3 separate regions of the Homo sapiens genome follow, and regions 2 and 3 are each linked to region 1. Evidence: promoter capture Hi-C in 16 types of primary human blood cells and fetal thymus (Javierre and others, 2016). All regions are on one chromosome and are shown on one strand. The core of a region is centred on a gene start or on the middle of the fragment in contact, and the rest is flanking DNA. Distances in the headings are between cores, read along the strand shown. Region 1 holds the start of HNRNPDL (heterogeneous nuclear ribonucleoprotein D like). Region 2 overlaps G3BP2 (G3BP stress granule assembly factor 2). Region 3 overlaps LOC101928864 (a long non-coding RNA gene).

Region 1 (5,169 bases), core at 1,265-3,764:
CAATCATCAGTATTTGTCCTGAAATTTTCCGCAGAGGTCTCTGGTGTGATTAAAAACGTGGGGGAAGGTCAGGCGCGGTGGCTCGCGCCTATAATCCCAGCACTTTGGGAGGCCGACACGGGAGGATTACCTGAGGTCAGACCAGCCTGGTCAACTAAAAATACAAAAATTAGCCGGGCGTGGTGGTGCGCGTCTGTAATCTCAGCTACTCGGAAGGCTGAGGCACCAGAATCGCTTGAACCCCGGAAGCAGAGGTTGCACCACTGTATTCCAGCCTGGGAGACAGAACAAGACTCTGTCTCAAACAAAACAAAACAAAACAAAACAAAACGTGGGGAAGAGGCCGGGTGCCATGGTTCACGCCTGTAATTCCAGCACTTTGGGAGGCTGAGGTGGGTGAATCACTTGAGGTCAGGAGTTTGAGACCAGCCTGGTGAAACCCTCTTCTACTAAAAATATAAAAATTAGCTGGGTGTGGTGGCACATGTCTGTAATCCCAGCTACTGGAGAGGCTGCGACAGAAGAATCGCTTGAAGCTGGGAGGCAGAGGTTGCAGTGAGCTGAGCTCACACCACTGCACTCCAGCCTGGGCAACAGAGCGAGACTCCGCCTCAAAACAAAAACAAAAACCGTGGAGAAAATGCTAAACTCGATTTCTTCTGAACCTATGCTAAGATGTCAAGGTACTGTGATTCTTCTAAAAGAATTTTAAAGGTTGTTATGTTTGGTGTCCTAAAAGTGTACATGGATTTTATATTATAACCTACATCAAGAAACTCATTCAGGCCAGGCGCCTTGGCTCATGCCTGTAATCTCAGCACTTTGGGAGGCCAAGAATTCCAGACTAGCCTGGGCAATATGGCGAAACCCCGTCTCTACAAAAAATACAAAAATTAGCCAGGCATGGTGGCTCTCCCTTCAGTCCCAACTACTCGAGAGGCTGGGGCAGGAGGATGCCTTAAGCCCAAGGAGGTAGAGGCTGCAGTGAGCTGTGATTGCACCACTCCACTCCACTCCAGCCTGGGAACAGAGTGAGACTCTCAAAGAAAAAAAAAAAAAAGCCTTATTCACAGATAATTTTTTTTAAAAATGGAAACTAAAATAGAATTTAAAACCCAAGCTGCTCAGTTTCTTGGAAGATGGATTTTTCCTACTTGGTAATATACTTTGTATATCTCGACTATTATTGTGCATGCAAGCACCTCTAAGAAGTACTTGTATCTGCAATGAATTCTTAAACCTCAGGGAGCCAAATAAAAAGACAAGGCCCGAGGAATTCTTTCAAAAATTAAAGTAACATTTCATATTTGCTTATTCTAACAGACAAAGAATAAAGAAGGAATCCGCTAAGTTGCAAGCTGAGGTGCAGACAAGTGCTGGTTCACAGTGACATCCTAGAAGGAATGCTCTGGATAAGAGCTTCAAGCTTCTGTGGTTTTCTGAGGAAAGTGAACGGAATCTAGACGTGTCCTATAGCTCAAAAAATCAGCGCTATGGACCACAGCGCCTAACAGAGTAAAATAATACACTGTGCAGTTTGGCCACTAACAGCAAGAGTGGGAAGGGGCGAAGAGGAACCTTGATTGCCCGACACCAGGGCCACCTGAAAAGTCATCTTGACACTTCAGTCTTTCCATTTTGAGATCGGAAGCTTTAAGGACCATTAAATCGCTGCCGCTGCCACACCAGGCCCGACGGAGCAGAAAGGCTGCGCTCACCTGCGGAAGCGACCGGGTGCACACCTGCCGGGTGGCGAGGCCCGCACCGTCACACCCCGCCCCGGCTTACCTGCCCTTCGGTGATTTTTAGCGTCAACTTCCATCCCTTCCCACCCATCTGGATCCAACCAAGCGCAAGGGCGGGGGAGGGAGAAGCTAGTGTCGCGAGGAAAAGCATCCCCGCAACCCACCGCAGGCTTTCTCTCCTTCCTCCCCATTCCACACAAGAGGCAGCCACACCGCCTCTCCTAACCCTCGTCTCCAATGCAAGGCCTGAAATACTTAGAAAAAATAATAACTGTTTTTAAGGAAAAGTAACATCCCCGCTCCCTTCCGCCCCTCACCTTCACGAAAGCAATCGGGGTTGTGGTACCTTCGATATCTAACAGGATCACGGTGACTTCGGCGGGGACCGAAAGCACGACCATTTCCCTACCGGATGCTACGGGACTCGGCCTGCTGTTGGGGAGGGCGGAGGGCGGCGCCGGCTGCGGCTGCGGCCCCCGGTACCGTCTTGGGCTTCCGGCGGCCCCGCGCGATCTCGGAGCCAGCGACCAAGTGCAGCCCGCCGCGCGTGGGGAGAGGACACTTCTGCACACCTGGAACTGGAAAAGGCGGCCGCCCAGGAGCCCTGAACTCGTGAGCAGGACGGGGCAGGAGCCCGAGACCACGTGGGCAGGAAAAGGGGCGGCCCTTGACGGGTTCGGCGGGGCGGGGAGGGTGAAGGCGCCAGCGCCGATTGGCCGCCGTCAGGCCTCGAACTGGATCCGTCAAAATGGGCCTCGCGTGGGCGGGAACAAAGAAGCGAACGCGGGAGCAGGGTGCGCGAGAGCGCGCCCTCCGCAGACAGGTTGAGCGAGCGGGAGAGGCCCGGGGCACGTGCAGAAAGGAGCCCCGCGAGTGGCGCGCCGGGGATGTGAGTGCCCCTTGCCCTCTACTGAATCCAGCCCCCTCCCCGCCCACCGCCTCCGCCTTTGCATAGATACAGTCATCTGGCCAGCCCCCGCCCCTCCTCCCGGCGTCAGCCCGCCAGAGGCCGCGCGGGGCCCGGGCTTCGGCCGATCAGCCCGGGAGGCCCCGCCGCGCCCCCTTGGCCCGCGCGCCCGTGGTCACAGTGGAAGAGGCGCCCGCGCTGCGCTGCCCGGAGGAGCCGTCGCGCGCCCGCTTCCTGTTCGGCTGGTTCCTGCCAGCTCGAGGACAAAACACGCGTGCGCGCGGCGGGCGAGCGCGCTCGCCGCCTCAGTCGCCAGCGCCGGGCGCAGTCCGCCTTTTTCCGGAGCAGACTGGCCGCGGTGCTAGTCGGTAGCAGCGGCCGCCGCAGCGGCTCCGCACTGGCGAACCGAGGGCAGAAAAAGGCGGGGTTGACGGCTTTTTGGTAGGAGTGGGCTGGACCGGACGCCAGAGACAAAGGCTCCCAAGGCAAGAGGGACTGTGGCCCTGCGTCGGCTCTGCTCGGGACTGCTGACCCCAGGAATTTACGCCCCTTCGTTTTTCTCTTCTGATTCTTCTCTTCTCCCAAGCCCGCGTCCCCTCACGCGTGGCCTCTCTCCTTGCCGGGAGGGCCGCGATGGAGGTCCCGCCCAGGCTTTCCCATGTGCCGCCGCCATTGTTCCCCTCCGCTCCCGCTACTTTAGCCTCCCGCAGCCTCTCCCATTGGCGGCCGCGGCCGCCGCGGCAGCTAGCCCCGCTCCTCCCTTCGCTCGCTCCCAGCTCCGCCCGGCAGGGGGCGCGCCGGGCCCAGCGCCACGTCACCGCCCAGCAGCCCTCCCGATTGGCGGGCGGGGCGGCTATAAAGGGAGGGCGCAGGCGGCGCCCGGATCTCTTCCGCCGCCATTTTAAATCCAGCTCCATACAACGCTCCGCCGCCGCTGCTGCCGCGACCCGGACTGCGCGCCAGCACCCCCCTGCCGACAGCTCCGTCACTATGGAGGATATGAACGAGTACAGCAATATAGAGGAATTCGCAGAGGGATCCAAGATCAACGCGAGCAAGAATCAGCAGGATGACGGGTACCGCACGCTTCTTCCCCCGCTCCCCCTCCCCCAGCGCGCCGCACGCGCCCTTCGTTCCTCGTGAGCCGCGCGCTGCCCCCATTCTTTCTCAGAGTCGATTCCCCGCGTGCCTTCTGGGCCCCACTAGATTGGAGGGAAGAGGAAAGTAAGAGATCGAGGGGGTGACTGGAGAGACCCGGGAAGAGTGGGGGAAGGGCGGAGGGGTTGGAGGAGGAGGGCGGCGGCGTCTGTGTCCCGAGCGCGCAGGCGCCGCGTGGGACCCGGGGGGGAGGGGCCGGCCTCCCAGCGCTGCACGCTGCAGCTGCCGCCGCCTCTTCATTGTGTCTCTGTTACCACTCGGCGCGGTTTTCCTGGGAAGAGTTTTAGAGGACTGAGTTGGGGCACAAGCAGGCGACTGGTACCCAGATTCACAAAACGTGTTATGATTGATGAGTTCTCTGGGTGGAACGTTGGCTTGACAGCTGAGAACGAAGATGGACCTAAGTAAGATAAGATGTGAGGGATTCATCTAGGAAGTTGTGCCTTCTACCTAAAGGAATCTGGGCAGAACCTTTACTGTATTTTATTGGTCTCTTTTGAGCTTTGCTTTATGTAGTGCGGACAGTGAGCTGTCCGCTGGTTTGAGTAACTTCGTTGGGATATTGGGATTTTTGTGTGACATAGATTAAATGTAAACATGAATTAAATTGCCTACACTTAGGGGGTAAATGTCCCTGTTTTTATTTCACGATTTAATTCCAGAACTGAAGGATCATTTGAGTTATTGTTAATTTTTTTTAAAAACACTTTTATTTCTAGTAAAATGTTTATTGGAGGCTTGAGCTGGGATACAAGCAAAAAAGATCTGACAGAGTACTTGTCTCGATTTGGGGAAGTTGTAGACTGCACAATTAAAACAGATCCAGTCACTGGGAGATCAAGAGGATTTGGATTTGTGCTTTTCAAAGATGCTGCTAGTGTTGATAAGGTAGGAACTATGTTTTGCATTGTGCTGCTTTTGTGGTGTTTTGCAAATTTTTCTGGGGGTTATATGGTGCTGTCAGATTAAATAAATCTGTCTTGTAGGTTTTGGAACTGAAAGAACACAAACTGGATGGCAAATTGATAGATCCCAAAAGGGCCAAAGCTTTAAAAGGGAAAGAACCTCCCAAAAAGGTTTTTGTGGGTGGATTGAGCCCGGATACTTCTGAAGAACAAATTAAAGAATATTTTGGAGCCTTTGGAGAGGTGTGTGATTATGTTTACACATGTTAAGCTTGATGTGTTTATAAAATGTTCAATCCTTGTCCGATTTATGCAGGGCAGATTCATGTTTCCTGTAAGAGTAGAATTAAATGACTGCTCAAGTCGCTTCCAGTGACTGTACCTTGATTTCATTGCTGCTCTGATGGAAACCCAACTATCTAATTTAGCTAAAACATGGGCACTTAAATGTGGT
Region 2 (5,169 bases), core at 1,862-4,361, 6.8 Mb after region 1:
CTGAAAACTTCCCTCCTTATCCTGCAAAATTATCGCTGTTTATTACGCATAATTAGGATTGAACATTTTCCCCCTAGATTGCTTTAAAAAGACTTTCCACATATTTTGAGTGAATATGGAGACAGTGAATGACTCCTTTTCAATGTTGATTTTGAAAGGCACAAACTAAAGTGTTGCGTCTGAACTTAAATTCAGTAGAATTTAATGGACAAACATGACCTAGTTACTCTCCACTGGTAGACACTTGTTTTATATCCGATAGAATAAATTGGTCCACCCACCTTCAGGAAGGTCCTGGCCTACCTTCAGAAGCAATAGAATTAGTTTCTTGACTGTCGTGTTTCTGCTTACTTTTATCTGCTAATTTCCAAGTATTTTACCCTATCTTGAAACCATAGGTATATTGAAAATTATTCTTGGATTTTCTGTTGCTGTCCTGCTGTATTCCTTTGCTTTTCACTCTTCTCAACAGTTTCACATAAGCTAACAATTGCTTGTTTAAAATTAATTTTTTGTATTGTTGGAAGAGCTGGCTGCTCTTCCAAAGCGGTTGTTCCTAACCAAAGTGTAATGAAAACATCAGTTGAGTCAGGAGTCAGGAGACCTGATTTCAAATCCTCTTTCTTTTTACTGTAACTGAGGAACCCCAAACACCTTTCCTTAGGCTCTCTAAACATCCTTTTCTGTAAATGAAGATAATGCCCTATCTATTTTAAAGACAAAAGAAAATAGTAGGTTACTTGTTAAACTTTAAAACATAGTATAAATACATGCTTTATTTTTGTGGACAGCAAGCATTTCCATTTCTTACTGCTTGGTCACTTTTAATAGCTTCTGAATTTTAAAACTAGCCTCCCTCAACTTCTGAGAAGGACAGAAAACAAAAACACCTTTTGGAGCCTGAATAAGAGATTTAATCCATAACTTACTTTTATTATTTATTTGTACCACTATGATTCTTAGATCTTCTTTGTGAAGCTTTCATTCAATGGTGTACCACAAAAGATTGAAGGTCATTTCTTTAAAAAGGTATAGTGTTCCTTAGATTGTTTAAGTTACTTCAAACAAAAACCATCTGGAATTTCAGAAAGTTCCAGTATTAATATGCATTTAGCTGTTGGAAATGGATATAGTCCATGGTTCAATTAAAATAAATAAACCTGACTAGTTTGAGCCCAGCTATGAGTGAGGGACTCCAGAGGGGAAAGGGGTAAGTATCCTATAGTGGAGATAAGCTGTGTCTTAGCACCCACATAACCTTTGGTAACAGTATCTGGTAAAGAGAACTGCCTCCTATTACTAGAGGTCTTATTCTTTTTATAATAACTAATACCAAGTACTTACAACTCAGCTCACTGCAACCTCCGCCCCCGGGTTCAAGCGATTCTCCTGCTTCAGCCTCCTGAGTAGCTGGGATTACAGGCGCCCGCCACTGCACACGGCTAACTTTTTTGTGTTTTTAGTAGAGATGGGTTTTGCCATGTTGGTCAGGCTGGTCTCGAACTCCTGACCTCAGGTGATCCACCCATCTCGGCCTCCCGAAGTGCTAGAATTACAGGCGTGAGCCACTGCACCCGGCCTCTTTTTCCTTTTGTAGTTTCTGGTACATACATAGTAGCCATAAAATAAATGTTGAAATGAATTTATTTTGTATAACCCATTGACTCAGCTTGTGGATGGGAATGAATGAAGTAAGACAAAGGCGCAGAGAGTGAAATTGCAGAGAATAATATTAGGTGATTAAAATATTTGTATAGAATTTGATACAGGGATGAGAAAGTATAGTAGGAGATAAATTTGAAAGGTTGGTTATGACATTGAATGTCAGACTGGATTTCTGTGTAGGGCCTTAGATGCCAAACTGAATGCAGGTGTTTGGATTTTACTCAGTACAGTATATACTACACGTGATACAGGGGCTTGAAAGACTTTTGAAGAATAAAAGGTCTGAACAGTGGGAGTGAAAAGGAGGGCACAAATTCCACCTTCTGAATTGTAAGGATTTCACAGTTTAAGTGGCAAAGCTAAAGGGGAGAAAGTCACGACTGAGCTTTCAAGTTGAGAAGATTATGACACTTTTAACAGAAATAAGGAAATAGCTTTCTTTGGTGCATGCGTGTATTGGGACATATGTGGGTCATGTCTAGGTGTTCAGTATGTGGTGACAAATGTAAAATTTGAACTTATGGTATAGACTAGATACACGTTTAGGTAGACATGAGACCAGAAGCTGAAATTGCCAGGTTAGAAGACAGAACCTTGAGAAATTCTGCGTTTGGATGAGAAGGAAAATTTGCCTTATAGAACTCTAGAAGAGTTAGGAGGAGGTAGTCAACATTGATAATGCAGATGGGTGGAGGATTGAGAAGTCATTCGATTATTGAGAAGAATTGTGATGTTTCCAGAGAATTGCATTCAAAGGAGAGCTGAGTTATAATATTTGAGAGGGGAATAGAAGATGAAGACAGGTGTACAGTTAGTAATTTAGGGCAGAGCATGATCAATAAACTGCTATGATAAAGGCCAAAAGTGCTTTAAGAGTTAATAGAGAAGAGTTATATTCTGTTGAGGAATTCAGTAGGAGTAGAAAGATTTTCAAGGGGACAGGATTTCTGCTGGGCCCAGATAAATGCATAGGGTTTCAATCATTGCAGATAGGAAGGTGTGAGATGAGTATTGGAGGAGAAGTCAAAAGTCCTGCTTCTTGTTAACAGACTTTTAGGATCTTAGTGTTGGAATGGCCTAATCTTACTTTTTTGGATGTATGGACTCTACTATGTTTGTGCCAAACCATTCAGTTAGTCTCTGGAATACCTGTAGTGACTGGCTACTTGTTAAGTAGCTCTATTTGATATTTGGACAACTCGCGTTATTCTTGTGTTATGTTTCACCCAAATCTACCTTCTTATAATTTCCATTCACTATATTCAATTAGCAATCAACTCATTTTAGATATTACATCTAAATTAATGTAGCCTAAGATTGATTGTTTTGGAGGCAGCCCCATTATAGTAGTGATTCACTGAACTTTAAATGGTAAACAAAAAACCTAAATGTTTCTTACCTAAAAGGTGACGTTTTAGTCAAAGTTTGAGGAAAGGAGAGTGATAACTTTGGTTTTTACGTTATTTTGAAACTGAGGAAATATAAGTTCATTGTAGGATAATGAAGCTCAATGTGACTTTCTTTTCTAATCTGCATGTATGTCTACCAATGCTCCACTCCCTCTCAGTGTGTATTATCTACCAATACTCCACTCTCTCTCAATGTGTATAATTAATAGATTCAGAAAATATGGTGACAAATATAGAGCAATTTTCCGTGAGAGCTGAAGTGCATGTGCTTCAGGAATTAGGCAAATGCAGAGGAAACATTTTAAGAAACAGGAATGAATAAAATATTCTGATGAAGATTCACTGGGATTTTAGGTGCGATAGGCAGAGTTGGAGAGTAAAAAGCCTCTAAACTATACTGGATAATGTTTTCGGTTTTTTGTTTTTTGAGACAGAGTTTCGCTCTTGTTGCCCAGGCTGAAGTGCAAGGGTGTGATCTCAGCTTACTGCAACCTTTGCCTCTGAGTTCAAGCAATTCTGCTGCCTTAGCCTCCTGAGTAGCTGGGACTATAGGCGCGTACCACCAGGCCTGGCTAATTTTTTGTATTTTTAGTAGAGACGGGCTTTCACTGTGTTAGCCAGGATGGTCTCGATCTCCTGACCTTGTGATCCTCCTGCCATTGCCTCCCAAAGTGCTGGGAAGTAGGCATGAGCCACTGCGCCTGGCCTTGGATAATGTTTTCATTTGACAAGTAAAAGACGGATTTGTTCATGAGAGAGCTTTGACTGTGTATAGAGCTAATGTATCAGATAAAATTTTACACTGTGCATTCCTGTGTGAGATTCTTCACATTTTCAGGTGTCATTGGAAGAAGTGGAGTGTGATATATTGTATTTAACTTTTTCTAAAAAGGTTGTTAGGTGAGGCTAACAACCACCTTATTGAAGATGGTAGTTATCTTTGAAGGTGCTAATCTAAGAACTTTCTAAAGATTTCTTTTTGTGTATAAGTATCCTTTAATCTTGGCTATCTTTTTTTTTTTTTTTTTAAACAGTGTCTCACTCCTGTTACCCAGGTTTGAGTGCGGTGGTGCCATCTTGGCTCGCTGCAGCCTTGACTTCCCGGGCTCAGGCATTCCTCCCACCTCAGCTTCCCGAGTAGCTGGAGCTACGCTTGCACACTACCACGCCCCGCTAATTTTTTGTATTTTTTAGTAGAGACGGGGTTTTGCCATGTTGCCTGGGCTGGTCTCAAACACCTGAGCTCAAGCGATTCACCCACTTTGGCCTCCCAAAATATTGGGATTACAGGTGTGAGCCACTGCACCAGGCCTTCTTGGCTATCTTTGTAGAACTGTATAGTCTTGTAGGCTTGACCGGGGATTTCTTCTCAATTTGTAAACTAGGAAATCGAGATCCAGTAAGGTCATGAGTTTTTCATGGCCATGGATAAGATAGTTGAAACCTTTTACTCCCATATTCAGAATTTTGTTTCGTTTTGTTAACTTTTTTTAAGAAATGGAAGGTCCCAGATCTAGAAATGGATTACCTGTAAGATGATTTGCTATGAATAATAAAAATGGCACAATTCTTTCTTCTTGTAATCACTTTTATTCTGAAAGTGTAATTTGGCTTTTTTCCTTTTTCTCAACCTTCTTACGTACACTGCATGAATTATAAATACGAACTTTATATTACTTACTCAATTTTCATAGTCTTATTTCCTGCAATACCCAAACCACGTTGTTTGATGGTTGATCTCTAGTAGTCATTTTCTGGTTGATTTCTATCAATTATATTTTGGCTCTCTAAATTCTGAGTCACTTCAAATCGGAGTTATGGTTAAAGAAGTAACTGATGTAATTAGTTGAAACACTGTTCTCTCAGTAAATCTTGATTTTGTTTTACCATTCCTTTGGGAGCCTCCTCTGCACCTTAAAAGCTCAGCTTTCTATATAACCTGTTATATGCCTGTTTAGATTTTACCAGATTAGCATTGCCTTACTTATTTACCATTTGAAGTTAACTTTTCAAGTTACTGCCTTCCAATAGTTCTAAGTATTAATTTATTGAGTATTGATTAATCAAATATTACTTCTACTGCCCTTCCCTGTCT
Region 3 (5,169 bases), core at 1,816-4,315, 5.3 Mb after region 1:
CGGCGTACCTCCAGAGGTTGTAGTGCTGTTGTTTTAATGAAGACTCCCAGAGCTTCTTGGTCCTTGGTAACCCATAAATTATCATTTATTGTTCATTATAATTAGCGTTGTTATTATAGGCGACACGTCTCCCAGGACGGGACAAAAAGCAAACAAACCAGGTGCCTTAGGCCAGAGACACTTTCACACGGAATATCAATGGGGCATGTGGTTGACTGCCCTGGAACATTTATTTGTTTACTCTCTCCCTCCTAAATTAGAAAATACCATATTCGTGAGTTCTAATCTACATAATCAGATAGTCCCTGGGAAGAGATTTCTCCTTTCTGTTCTTCTATGTGTTTTCTGTGAATTATTTTGTTACTTGTGAAATATGGGAAGGCACACAACATAGCTTTGGCAGCGCTCTTCTTTGCGGAGCAGCTAAGGAATTTTAAAACTAGGTCCCTTTGCATATTAGCTCGGACTAAACACAGGCATCTGTTTGGAGCACAGAGCAACTGGGGGAAGGCAGCCCAAAAAGCTAACACTTATTTCAGAGAGGTGTGAGCTTGGTGAGGGTTTTGGAAAATAAGATAAAATTAGCACACCAGTTTTAAATGATTTACAGGCTACATAATTTTATCCAATGCTTGTTTTATCTTTTAAACATTAAGTGATAACTTTTATTTGACATAATCATCTTGCTGGAAATCTATGCTGATAAACATAATAGGAGCATGAAACTAACTTAGAGACTAGAGCTAAGATTAAAATTACAGAGATGACAGCTCATTGTACAGAGCATCAATAGGCTGAGTGGACAGGGCCCACAGACAGAAAGCAGCTCGACCAACTATCCACCATCAGAGAAATGAAGAGTTTGTGATCAAAGCATGAAGGAGACTGGGGATGTTTTTTTCAAGTAAGAAGGCAAAGGTAAAAAAGGAACATACGTTATTTTATAAGTGATGTGAAAGAGGAAATGCAAATTTATGTGGTAGAAGACTTTAAAAATAACAGACTATATAAAACAAAAAGGAAAAGATTTAGAAATTGTCCTTTGCTTAGGCTACATAATTTTATCCAATGCTTATCTGATCTTTTAAACATAAATAAGTGATAACTTTTATTTGACATAATCATCTTGCTGCTTAGCACTAAATGATATGAAGCTATACTAAATGTGTACTCTATATTTCATAACTGGTATTTTATGTGTCCTTTTACAGACAGCCTCTTGAATGATGTGAACAGTGATGGCTTTCTCTGAGAGTAAGACAAGAAAGCTTTGTAAATGGCGTTGAATTTCCTGCTCTTGGCAGGCCCTGCTCAGCACAGAAGAAAAGACTGATCAAGTTGTCCAAGATGGAGCCCTTTATCCACGTTAGTCCACTTATCTCTTTAAGATTAAAGGAAAGCAATCATTAAAAATACAGATCCAGTAATTATTAATACAGCATCCTCTTTTTTAAACACCTCATTTTAAGAATGATGATATTCTTAGGAAATGGGCTGGGGGATTATGTAGGTTTTCTCTGTTTACTTTGCAGAATTTTTTGTTTGTTAATATATCTTTTAAAAAAAAATTCTCCTCATTCTATTTGTCCTTATCACATTGGCTTACCTTGCCGGAGCTGAAAGTGTTATTTATGAAAAAGACATTATTCCCCTTAGGCTAATCAGGCTTTACCCATTAGCCTTTCCTGAGCTTTCTGGAAGGCAAATTTCCTGTATCATGCACACATACAAAATAAGGAAATCAGAAACTTGGCAGCCCCCAAGAACTTCCAGACAATTTAAGATACTTGGTTTTCTACAGCATGTGGTAGGGGTGCAGTGGGGTTGGGTGATACTGTCACCAATAACCCCATGAAAGCCTGATGTGCAGCCCATTGTCCTCAGTGACATGTGAGACTGAAACTAAAAGGTGCTCACAGAATGGGTAATAAGCAGGGAGTGCCCACACAGAAACACTGACTACATTCAGTGAATCCCTGACTCCTGACAAGTGTGCTGCAAACCTGCTCACACTTAAGCTTCTACCTTGAAAATAGGGCACTCTCATGGGACAGTTGCAGTGCTTCCCTAAATGACTTAGACTTCCCTGAACTTCATAAGGCATCAAAATTGCTACAATTTTCCAAATATCATCTTTCTCCTCAAAGATATGGTTTTTGACAATAAATCCTAGCTTTTTATTCAATCGAAATTTAGTGAATACACACTGAGTGCCAGGCATGCTACTAGGCACCAGGAATACAAAAATACATAAATAAAACAAGGCCCCAGCATATACCCTGGTATGTCTGAGGTGTAGGGCAAAAGCACTGGCCATGGATCAAACTGGCTTTGTGTCTCAGCTTTCCTACTCATTAGAAATGGTGCCTTGAATACCCTGAATAATTCCCATGGTCTTGAGCCTCAGCTTTCTAAACTGAGGAAAACAAAAAGCCAGAGGTAGTTGTGTCTGCTTCATATGTGATGACTGAATACAAACATTTGTGAAAGCAACTAGCTATATATTTCTAGGCTGCACCATGTTGTGACTTCATGAAGGGAAAGGAAGGGATCATCCCTAACCTCATCAAAGAAGTCTGGTGGAAAGCAGCCCTGAAAGGAAAGAACCTGAGGATAAGGATACGTAAAGCTGACATGAGGCCATACTCCCCCTCCCCGTCTACTCACTATTGCTGGGTCCCTGCCTGGGCTGTTTTCTGTCATTAGGCTGAGCACAGTGGTTCATACCTGGAATCCCGGCACTTTGGGAGGCTGAGGTGGGAGGATCACTTGAGCCCAGGAGTTCAAGACCAGCCTGGGCAACATAGCGAGACTTCATCTCTACAAAAAATTTTAAAAATTATCTGGGCGTGGTGGCATGCACCCGTAGTCCCAGCTACATGTGAGCCTGAGACAAGAAGATTGCTTGAGCCTGGGAGGTCTATGCTACAGTGAGCCATGATCATGTCACTGCACTCTGGCCTGGGCAACAGAGCAAAACCCTGTCTCAAAAAAAAAAAAAAAAGTGGTTTGCAGCCCCAAACTTCCTGCTTAGATAAGTCTTGCTTCACAGAACCTGCAATGGAGACAGGAATGCCTCTCTGAGGAAGAGAAACAGGGAAGGTATAGCATAGTAGCATAGGGTGCTATCTTGAAGTAATGCAGATTTTTCAACCAAGAGCTCATTTTTAAATCAGAACCTGGAAGAATGAGATGATTTATATAGCAGATGATTAATCTCTGTCTTCAAGCAATCAGCAGAATAAGTCAGTGAAACATCTCATATATTCTCCTTTCTGATTTTCCCACAAACAAGACCATCTCAAATTTGAAATCAACATTTTACAATCCATTTACTATATATTTTGTTGCTTTTGTTGTTAATGCTAGAAGCATGCCCTGTTTTTTTGGAAGAGTGTTTATGCAAGGGTTGGCCATATTCATAAACATTCATAGTGTTTATCTACGTAGGGTTGGCTTTGGAATTGTGGAAATTATCCACACTGTAGACACCATCTGAATGACTACAGCAAGAGGACCAGTTTTTCCAGCCAGCCACTTTAGTCCCTCCCAGTTCTACTAGCCTGCAAGAGAGTAGCCTTGTAGGAACTATCTCTGCAACCTGAGAACTTGAGAACTAAATGCTCGGTTGACTCTGAAGCCCGACTCAGTACTTTGTTATCCAGTGCTCTCTCTTTTACACGAATAATCAACTGAAATAAATGAAGTAGCTTTGACATAATGTGAAAAGCCTGGCAAAGGAGAGTGAACTGAGAATTCGGCAATGCCTGAAATCAGAACTAATCATCTCAAAATCATCTTAAAATATATTTTAAGTGGCTCAGGCTACATTCTGGTACATTGTACATGATTCTTTATGTAACACATTTTTCTTTCATGGTTTGTTTCAAGAACCATGACCTAACTCAGAGATTTCCTGTCTTTCCTTGACATCACAGTGCTATATGAAGTTGACACTGTCAGCAAAGAGTAACTTAGGATACATCTGTTGAATGTATCATCTTATTTCCAAAAGAAGTTTTACTGTCTGTGAGAGTCATGATCTCTTTTTTTATCTCAAATGAAAAGGCAATTGATGTTTAAAGTGATATGGATAAGTGGTATAAGCTTAAAATTTGCTTCTGTTAACATTTTAAAGTGTTTTCAAAATGAAATTTTTTTTTTAACTTTAAAAAGAAAGACTGCTGTTGAAACCCTGTCTCTACTAAAAATACAAAAATTAGCTGGGTGTGGTGGCACACACCTGTAGTCCCAGCTACTTGGGAGGCTGAGACAGGAGAATCACTTGAACCTGGGAAGTGGAGGTTGCAGTGAGCCAAGATCACGCCACTGCACTCCAGCCTGGTGACAGAGCGAGACTCCGTCTCAGAAAAAAAGAAAGACTGCTTTATATCAAAGATCCTCAGGTCTGTTTAATTACGTATATTTTTATGTTTTCAACCACATTCTGAATAAGAAATTGTGGCTACATGCAGAAGTAGAACCAGATTTAAGGTAGTACATTTGAAGCTTTACTATTTGGAGGGGCTCTCTCTAGGAAAAAAAGAATTTACAAATACAAAATTAGATATGAAAGTGAATACTTATTTAAAACGAGACAATTCAAGACAAAGTGTAAATTTTAAACAGTTGTTACATACTGACTGCTTCGGCTATCTACTGCTGTACAATGAATCACCCAAAACTTAGTGACTCAAAACAACAATAATTTTATTATCATCACCCACAGGTCTGGGGCGTTGCTTGAACTCAGCTGGGCAGCCCTTGCTCAGGGTTTCTTATGAAGTTGTAATCAGATGGTAACTGCGGCTGGCATCATCTTGCTGCCACTCACGTGTCTGGAGTTGTTGCTGACTGTGGGCTGGGACCTCTGCTGAGGCTGGTGGCTGGAACATTTATATGTGACCACTCCACGTGGTCTTTCCATTTCCTCATGGCATGGTGGCAGGGCCTGAAGAAAATCAGGTGAACACTGTGTCTCCTTTTACAAACCAGCCTTGGCAGTCAGATAGCATCTATATTAATTTCACACTGATGGTCTAGGAAATTACCACAAATTTAGGGATTTAAAACAACAAATGTTTATCATATTACAGTTCTGGAGGTCAGAAGTTCAAAATGGGTCTCACTGGGCTAAAATCAAGGTGTCAGCAGGGCTGCAGTCCTTCT

Evidence for each region. Contacts are between HindIII fragments. The CHiCAGO score rates a contact against its expected background, and 5 or more counts as called.
Region 2: a contact is called between a fragment that was not itself captured here and the fragment with the promoter of HNRNPDL in region 1, in 1 of 17 cell types (total CD4 T cells). The highest score is 5.1, in total CD4 T cells.
Region 3: a contact is called between a fragment that was not itself captured here and the fragment with the promoter of HNRNPDL in region 1, in 1 of 17 cell types (fetal thymus). The highest score is 8.3, in fetal thymus.

The regions. Positions count from the first base shown.
Region 1 is chr4:82,427,807-82,432,975 of GRCh38, reverse strand. It overlaps HNRNPDL (heterogeneous nuclear ribonucleoprotein D like), which reads left to right and starts at 2,514. Exons shown (of 8, transcript NM_031372.4): 1 at 2,514-3,728; 2 at 4,530-4,698; 3 at 4,797-4,958. The coding sequence starts at 3,286. ENOPH1 (enolase-phosphatase 1) reads right to left here and starts at 2,386. Exons shown (of 6, transcript NM_021204.5): 1 at 2,063-2,386. The coding sequence starts at 2,146. RefSeq lists enhancers at 1,796-1,895, 2,259-3,054, 3,206-3,295, 3,616-3,675, 3,055-3,850 and silencers at 2,136-2,455, 2,576-2,975, 3,346-3,585, 3,896-4,065. The HindIII fragment of the contact is 3,206 bases long and covers 1,654-4,859 here.
Region 2 is chr4:75,666,222-75,671,390 of GRCh38, reverse strand. All of the region lies in intron 1 of G3BP2 (G3BP stress granule assembly factor 2), which reads left to right. Among named protein-coding and RNA genes, the nearest start is that of G3BP2, 4.6 kb to the left of the region's middle. The HindIII fragment of the contact is 4,261 bases long and covers 981-5,169 here.
Region 3 is chr4:77,151,019-77,156,187 of GRCh38, reverse strand. It overlaps LOC101928864 (a long non-coding RNA gene), which reads left to right. Exons shown (of 2, transcript XR_244659.5): 1 at 1-918; 2 at 1,212-1,434. Among named protein-coding and RNA genes, the nearest start is that of CCNG2, 3.6 kb to the left of the region's middle. RefSeq lists a silencer at 1,765-1,834 and an enhancer at 3,545-3,594. The HindIII fragment of the contact is 2,089 bases long and covers 2,021-4,109 here.